Linked DNA regions of Homo sapiens: region 2 is linked to region 1. Evidence: promoter capture Hi-C in 16 types of primary human blood cells and fetal thymus (Javierre and others, 2016). All regions are on one chromosome and are shown on one strand. Each heading gives the region's core, a stretch centred on a gene start or on the middle of the fragment in contact. The rest is flanking DNA. Distances are from core to core; before and after follow the strand shown.

What was found. Contacts are between HindIII fragments. The CHiCAGO score rates a contact against its expected background, and 5 or more counts as called.
Region 2: a contact is called between a fragment that was not itself captured here and the fragment with the promoter of HOXD-AS2 in region 1, in 1 of 17 cell types (naive CD8 T cells). The highest score is 7.8, in naive CD8 T cells.

Annotation. Positions count from the first base shown.
Region 1 is chr2:176,135,342-176,139,376 of GRCh38, forward strand. HOXD-AS2 (HOXD cluster antisense RNA 2) reads right to left here and starts at 1,757. Exons shown (of 3, transcript NR_038435.1): 1 at 1,280-1,757; 2 at 1-81. It overlaps LOC401021 (a long non-coding RNA gene), which reads left to right and starts at 1,271. Exons shown (of 2, transcript NR_148241.1): 1 at 1,271-1,658; 2 at 3,656-4,035. The HindIII fragment of the contact is 4,739 bases long and covers 1-4,035 here.
Region 2 is chr2:176,829,384-176,833,418 of GRCh38, forward strand. It overlaps LOC105373757 (a long non-coding RNA gene), which reads right to left. Exons shown (of 4, transcript NR_187998.1): 3 at 2,013-2,115; 4 at 1,459-1,756. Among named protein-coding and RNA genes, the nearest start is that of LINC01117, 190 kb to the left of the region's middle. The HindIII fragment of the contact is 1,485 bases long and covers 1,131-2,615 here.

The sequences.
Region 1 (4,035 bases), core at 507-3,006:
CTGCATGGCTATGCCCATGAGGGGAATGCTGGAGGCCAGCCAAGGACATTTACTTTCAGGGGGAGTTCACCAGAGCAGTTCCTGTGAAAAATATAAAGGGAATGTGACACCGGCCTTTGAGGAAAAGGAATTATTCTTTTTTCTAGGCTGATCTGAGGAAGTCACTCTTTTCCTGAACAAATGTCTTTTCAGTATTGCGTTGAACAAATTTTTCAATTGGGAAATATTTGGGGGCAAGGGGAGAGGGGAGAACTAGAATTAAACTCCATAAAAATGAGAATTGCTCTTAGAGGAGGACGTAGAGCAAGGAGTTTCAGAAGGGATCCAGAAACCATAACCCTGTCTGTCCAGAAAGATGTTTCTGTGGAGAAAGACCAGGTGGTAGAGTTTCAAACGGGTATTTCGGAGAGGTTGACAAGTACCTAAAACCATTTGAAGCCTTTAAGCTGGTTGGTGATTATCCTACTGCAGAACCTCCCGGGAATGGGAGGGACCCCAATTTATGTTGGAGTGGTGTGTTGGGGGCACATTTTCTTGGCCTGCAGATCCCTCGTTTTCTTCCCAAGGTAACTGGGGCTGGCTTGCAAGATGAGAGGGAGGAGGGGAAACCGAAAGTGGTTGGCTGCCTCTGGGGACAGGCCTTTTCCTGAGGGGAGAGGAGGAGAAGCCAAGTGACTAGCACAGGGTGAGAGATGGGAGGAGGTAGCTGTGGGGATCGCTTCCCCAGAGCGTGAGCAGTACATTGAGTTCATTTCCCTCCTTCACGATGGCCAACTGCGCAGAGGTTTTGAGCCAAACCAAAGAAAAGAACACACACACACACACACACACACACACACACACACACGCACACACACAAATAAATCCTAGAAAAAGAAACAGAGGAGGCGGGGAGGGAGGGAAGAACCACGAAGGGAAGAAAAAGGGAAAGGTGAAGAGGGACAGAGAAAGAGAAGGGAGGAAGGAGAGAGAGAATGGAGAGAGAGAGGAGGAGGAGAAGGAAGAGAGGAGGCGGGGGAGAGAGAAAGCAGAAGAGGAAAAAACATGGCGCTTGCGAGCTGTATGTGCAAAATCCGCAAGGAATTGCAGTAAATTCCTTTTTGTTTGAAGAAAATTTACAACTTGGTAATAGACCTTTTTATGACCTATTTGCGGTCGTCATTGGCTGCGGCTGGTCATGTGCAGGCGCCGCTCGCCTTCACGGCCTTTTTCCTGATTTCCCCGGCGAATTTCCCCCCGCATTCTGCTTTCCCAGAGCCTCACCCCCTCTTTTTCTAACCTTTGTCTCTGCAGAGGTGGGCTCCAGTCACCGGCTGCGGGATTGCGGAGTCCGCCGCGGCCTCGGCTCCCGCCCGGCGCCCGGCCTGGCCCCACCGCCGCTCACTCGGTCCGCATCGCCGCCACCTCCGGAGCTGGTGGGGAGCCCGGCGAGGGAGGGCCTGGAAGGGGCCCTGGGCGCCGAGTCCCCCGCCGGCGCCGACACCGCCTGCCAGGAGCAGCCGGCCTGCTCGAGGTGACTGCAGCCGCGCGGTTCTGGCGCGGCTTCTTCACCAACATGAGCGGGTCTCTGCGTCCGAGAGTGAGCGCAGCCGGGCAGCGCCTAGTGGATTACAGCAGACGCCCGGACCGACCGCCGCCTGTAGCTCGGCAGCCTTCGGGTAAGAATCGCCCCCTCCCCGCTCCCCAGCATGCCACCAAGAAGCCTGGGGCGCCGACCCCCTTGGGCAGCTCAGTCCGGCTGCTCCCCTACATTTCCCGGGGAAGTGGGGGGTCGCTGTCTAAGCCCCTTCCCCCAATCACTTCGTTCCTAGGGCGTCCCCTGGGGCCTGGGGTGGAGTCCGGCTGGGTTCAGAAGTCTAAGGGGGCAGTATTATTTCAAAAATTCTGAGATACGGGTAGCCACAGACAGGATCCCACTGCCTAGATGGAGAGCCCCTCAATCCTACCCTAGGAAAGTGTATAGACGGGTTACTACTGAACATCTCCACTTTGCTGGGGGTCACTAAAGGCATTTTATATAGAGCTGTGGTTTTTGTGGTTTACCTGTGGCCGTGGCCAGAGGTTCCTGGGAGGCTAACAGGTGTTTTTTGAGGGTTGGGGCTTGGGTGGGGGTGGGGTGAATTCTCTGTTTCTAGGATGTGCTTGGTGTTTGAATCTAGGCTTTAGTGACTGATGCTGGTTAATTTCTAGGGTTGATGGTTTATTGGGCCTTGTGTTGTATGAGATGGAATTTTAAATATTTTTAAATGTTTCTCTAGTTCTTAGAGAAATTTTTAAGCAACTCAAGATAGGCTCTTCCCGCATATGATAATCCGTCAGGTGAATTTGGATTCTTTTATATCACAAAATGAATCCATGTTTTGGGAGGTAATGGTATCAGAATATATGGTGCAGGTCTTGGTAAAAACCCAATAGATCTTTGAGAAATACAAGACATCTCTGTGTTGAAACATCGTGTGTTTCTTATTTGCCAGAGTAGGAAAAGAGTAGATCTTTTTGCTCTCTAAATGTATTGATGGGTTGTGTTTTTTTTCCCACCTGCTAATAAATATTACATTGCAACATTCTTCCCTCAACTTCAAAACTGCTGAACTGAAACAATATGCATAAAAGAAAATCCTTTGCAGAAGAAAAAAAGCTATTTTCTCCCACTGATTTTGAATGGCACTTGCGGATGCAGTTCGCAAATCCTATTGCCTATTCCCTCATGAACATTGTGAAATGAAACCTTTGGACAGTCTGCCGCATTGCGCATGAGACTGCCTGCGCAAGGCAAGGGTATGGTTCCCAAAGCACCCAGTGGTAAATCCTAACTTATTATTCCCTTAAAATTCCAATGTAACAACGTGGGCCATAAAAGAGTTTCTGAACAAAACATGTCATCTTTGTGGAAAGGTGTTTTTCGTAATTAATGATGGAATCATGCTCATTTCAAAATGGAGGTCCACGATTTGTGGCCAGCTGATGCCTGCAAATTATCCTGGATCACTAACTCTGATCACTTACAAATAAGAAACTTGAGTGATTGTTATTTTATTTGGAGTGTTTGTATTTTGTAATTATTTCTCTACTACAGTACAATGACCTTTGAGGTCATTCTTTGATCGGGGTAAAAAACATTCCCCATTGAAAAGCAGGCACCTGGATAGTGGCTTCTAGGCCCTGCCAGGTAGATTCGGAGCAGGAAGAGTCCCTAGGTCGGATGGTACCCGGGTGGGTGTGGGGGTGTGGCCCTGATGGCCAAGCTCTATGTTCAGAGCTTCAGTGCTTTTCCCTGGTTCTGTAGCACAGCGCGCTTGAGTGACTAAAAACCTGGGTTGGGTGCAGGTCCGATTACGCAGCAGAGGTTGATGTCATGGGCAGATTTGGAAGACTTGAGGGGTTCTTTGTAAGCCCCGTGGTAGCATTAATTCTTATTGGAACGAAATGGTCGATTGCATCTAAGGGAAATAATCCACAAATCACAGGAACTCTCGGGCCATTAGTCCACAAGAAAACTAGTTCGTGCTGTTGCCACTACCGGAAATAACCCCATTGTTTCTGTTAACCTAACCAAAAAATGAAACGAAATTTTAAAACGCTGGGACCCTGAGAGCTGAGAAGCCCAGAAGTATAACTCCCAGTGTCCTTGGCCCAAACCTCTGTTCTCTCATAGATCAGGGAGCCGATAGCATGTCCGGGCCTTGGTGACGACGGGTCAGGCCATGAACTGGGCTTGAGATCTCTGGCGAGGACCAGGAGAAAGACGAAGCTCGAAATTATAAATGTGGCCAAGCACGAGAGCTGAAAACAAAGCGTATTTTCCCGTCAGATGTTTCTACAAATAAATTTCGCCAGAGTTCTGTTTTCTGAATCAGAGAGGCAAGGGAAATCGAACAAAGACAGTATTTCACCCTGGGCTGGCAGGCAGCTGTTAGAGGTATTTACGGCCTTGCCGCAGTGCGGCGGCCAGGCAGCCGGGTAGGGTATGCGGGGGCACCGGAAGCTGGGGAGAAGCCATGAAGAACTCAGAATTTCAACTTAAATTCAATTTAG
Region 2 (4,035 bases), core at 623-3,122, 690 kb after region 1:
AGACATAAGGGAAAGTAGATTTTGGCCCTTCTAGGGAAGAACTTACAGTCTTCTCAGAGAAGAGATTTGTATTCAAGCAGCCATAGAAGTTGGAAGGTGTTCAGTGAGTAGCCCTAAAACGGAGCTCCTTAAGTATGGACCAGCAGATCAGTATCACCTGGGAACTCATTAGTAATGCAAATTTTGGGGTCCTGCCCTGGACTTACTGAATTAGGATCTCCAGGATCCGCTAAGGAGTCATTGGTTTAACAAGCCCTCCAGGTGAATCTGATGAATGCTAAAGTTGGAGAGCCCCTGCCTTAAAAGAAGTGAATTTGTGGGAAGTCAAAGGAGTAATTGACTTCCAGGGAAGTCTTCTAGAAGAAATTGGCTTTTGAGGTTTGGCCCTTTAAGACTGTTAAGATTCAGACACCTGGAGAGGAGTGGCAGGCATCCCAAGAGTAAAGACAATGTGAGCAGAGACCCAAATCCAGAAAGGCACAGGGGGTCTGGAAACAGCAAGGACTTCCATGTGGCCAGTGTCCAGGATGGCTGGAGAGGAGTTGCTGGCAGTCAAATTTCAAATAATAACAACAACAACTTGTATTGATCCCCTATGGTGTGCCATGAAGATTTCTAGATGCTTTATTTACAAGAATTCCTTTATTCTATTCCCATAACCCTATTAAAGAGAAAGTGTTATTAGATGATCCCCATTTAAAGATCAAGAAACTGGCAGGGCGCTGTGGCTCATGCCTGTAATCCCAGCACTTTGGGAGGCTGAGGCAGGCGGATCACTTGAGGCCAGGAGTTTGAAACCAGCTTGGCCAACATGGAGAAACCCTGTCTCTACGAAAAATACACAATTTAGCCGGGCATGTTGATGTGCACCTGTGATCTCAGCTACTCAGGAGACTGAGGAAAGAGAATCGCTTGAACCTGGGAGGTGGAGGTTGCAGTGAGCCGAGATAGCGCCACTGCACTCCAGCCTGGGTGTCAGAGCGAGACTCCATCTCAAAAAAGGAAACAAAAAAAGAAGATGAAGAAACCAAGGCTTAGAGAAAGTAACTAAACTGTCCAAATCACACAATTTGGGTTTGAATTTTCACAGCAATAAGGATATAAGTTGAGCTTTGAGCTTGGCAGCTGCAAGCTTAGAGCTTGACTTTAGGGCAATTTGGGAGCCATCTAGGGGTGGTTGACAGGCAAAACAGACGGTTGGCAAGGAGACCAGTGCGGCAGCCATAACCCAGAAGAGAGATAATGAGAGTGAGGATTACAATTAGGGACAGGGGCATGAAAAGGAAGGGGCAGATTCCAGATAGTGCAGGGTCAGAGGAGCAGGACTTGACCAGCAATAAAATGGAAGGGACAAAGGAGAGGCTGGGGTCAAAAGTCTCCTGGGAGCTTAGTCTGGGAGGAAGCTGGAGTCATTAACTGAAGCAGAGAACAACAATAATGACAACAAATAGATCATCCTCTTCTTCATATTGGATTTTATTTATCACACACTTATATACCAGGTACTGTTCTAAGTGCTTTACATAGATCAGATCATTTAACTTTTACAACAGCCTCCAGAGGTAGTTACTATTATTCTTCCCATCTTACGGTTCAGAAAACTGAGGCACAGAGAATTTAAATAACTTGCCCAGGACCACGTAGTATAGCCTTCCTCGTCTACTCTTGCTGTAAAATAGCACTGGCATCTTGTCAGGGATTGGAATTCCTCAAAATGATTCAATTATGTTTCTTCCAAACTTGGAAACAAACAGAACTGTAGCCAAGTAAAGCAACAGGTTAATGAATCCAGTAGTTCTCAATCTTCCCCATGCACTAGTATCACCTGTGGTGCTTTACAAACTTACCAGTGCGGGGATCCCACATCCAGAGATCAGGATTGTGTTGGTCTAGGCTGATGCAGCATTTGTTGGTTTGCTCGTTTATTGTTTAAAGCTCCCCAGGTGTTTAATGTACACATAGCACTGAGTCTACTGAATAAATCAATTGACAAGCAAGCATTTGTTGCTTACCTACTAGGTGGTAAGTGCTGTGCTCCATGCAGTGGTAGATTCCAAAGGTGATCAAGATACACCCCAGCCCTCAGAATTGATATCTTCCAGGATTTGCATAAGGCTAAGGAAAAAGAAGCAATTTGGGAGCAGAGCAGAGGTGGTGAATTTAGCTAGTGACCCAGAATTAATCCTTGGAGCTTGCTAGGAGAAATAGGGAGTACTGGAGAAGAACAGTGTTTTCACTAAATAAAACAGATAAAGAAAACTCCAGAGGTTGCTGGGTAAAATTATCCCTTCACTTTGGAGGTCAACTGGTGTAGACCAATTTGTCATCCTCTGTCTCCTTTCTATGCAATAGGAACTCTGAATGGCCTGTGTATCCAGGCACAGATCAGGCCCTGGCGCCAAACCACCAATGGCAAGGCATATCTTTTTTTGGGCCAATGGGGAAAAAAGGAAAACATTTCAGCTGCTGCTAAGTCCCAGTGTCTTTATTTGAACTTCCCTGGAACAGGCAAGTTAGTGATATTTATGGCTTACAAGAATTTCCATCTTTAAGTTTATCTTCTTGTTAAAAATCAGCCATCCCTCTACCCAAAACAACTGAAGACAATAAATCAAAGCTTAAATAAGAATCAAAGACTTATCTCTCCATGTAGGAATCCCTATAGTTGCTAACATACTATATTTTACTATCAGGCATCATAAGAGGTTAAGTGATTGGGAGGCAGGGACGAGCTTCCCTTCAACTGGGTGTGCAGAAGCCATGGAAATGAGACCAGACGTTGTCCAAACTAAGGGAGGAAGAGCTGGGCTAGCATTTTCCAATGAATTCCAGCACCTCATGCCACACTTACCTCTCCCAAATGACGCACACTGTGCTGTTGTTATTCTTAACTGATTCTGCCAATTGATGACTACACTCTCCAATCTGGTTCCTTTCCCTTTTGCAGAAACAGTGGTGTCAAAACAAGCCTGTCTCATTTCTGAATACTGAACGGATGTACCATTCTATCACTGTCAGCGAGGGAATGACAGCGGAGTTTGGCAGCAGCCTTAAGCCAGTGCCATAAGCTGCTGATATTGTAGCAAAATGTAAAAGAGGTACTATTTGGTGCCCACTGGCCTGCTCTGTGCTCTTGTTGTCCACACCTGTGTTCAAGTGCAGTGTTAGTGACAGGTCCAGACAGTGGCCATTCTACCCTAACACCCAAGTTGTTCCCATGGCCCACCTACCACGCATTGCCCGAGTTGGGGGTGACATTTACTTACTGCTCAAAAGCAGCCTTTTTCACAGATACAGTAGAAGGGGCCCATGGAAGTAGGCCTTTTACTACCAAACATGTTTACTGATCAAGTTACCACATTGTCCAAAAATTTTCTTTTCTGAAGAATTTCTGAACATATTTTTTCTGAAAAATCTTGATCAGTGTTTTCTTTTGGAAAAACGTGGGAGGACTGCTCACTCCCTCAGAACTTCTCTTTTAAAATGCAGTTAATCTTTGGAATTTAAGTTCTACATCTTAATGCACTTTTATTATTTATTCCCCATCACACAGAAAGTTTTCCAGGAGTAATAACATATATACAGAGACTATAGAATTTAAAACATACAAATCATGGTCATGGAAATGCTTTGTTCTCAAATGCAATCCCATATGGGCAGATAGGGTCCTAATCTCCCTAGTAGTGAAAATGGCTACCCGGCAAAGACAGGGAATCAACTTAAATGCCCATAAATGACAGATTGGATAAAGAAAATGTGGTACATACATACCATGGAATACTGCGCAGCCATAAAAAAGAACAAGATCATGTCTTTTGTGGGAACATGGATGGACCTAGAGGCTATCATCCTTAGCAAACTAATGCAGGAACAGAAAACCAAATACTACATCTTCTCACTTATAAGTGAGAGCTAAATGATGAGAACTTATGAACACAAAGAAGGAAACAGTAGACACTGGGGTCTACTTGAGGGTGGAGAGTGGGAGGAGGGAGAGGAGCAGAAAAAATAACTATTGGGTACTGGGCTTAATAT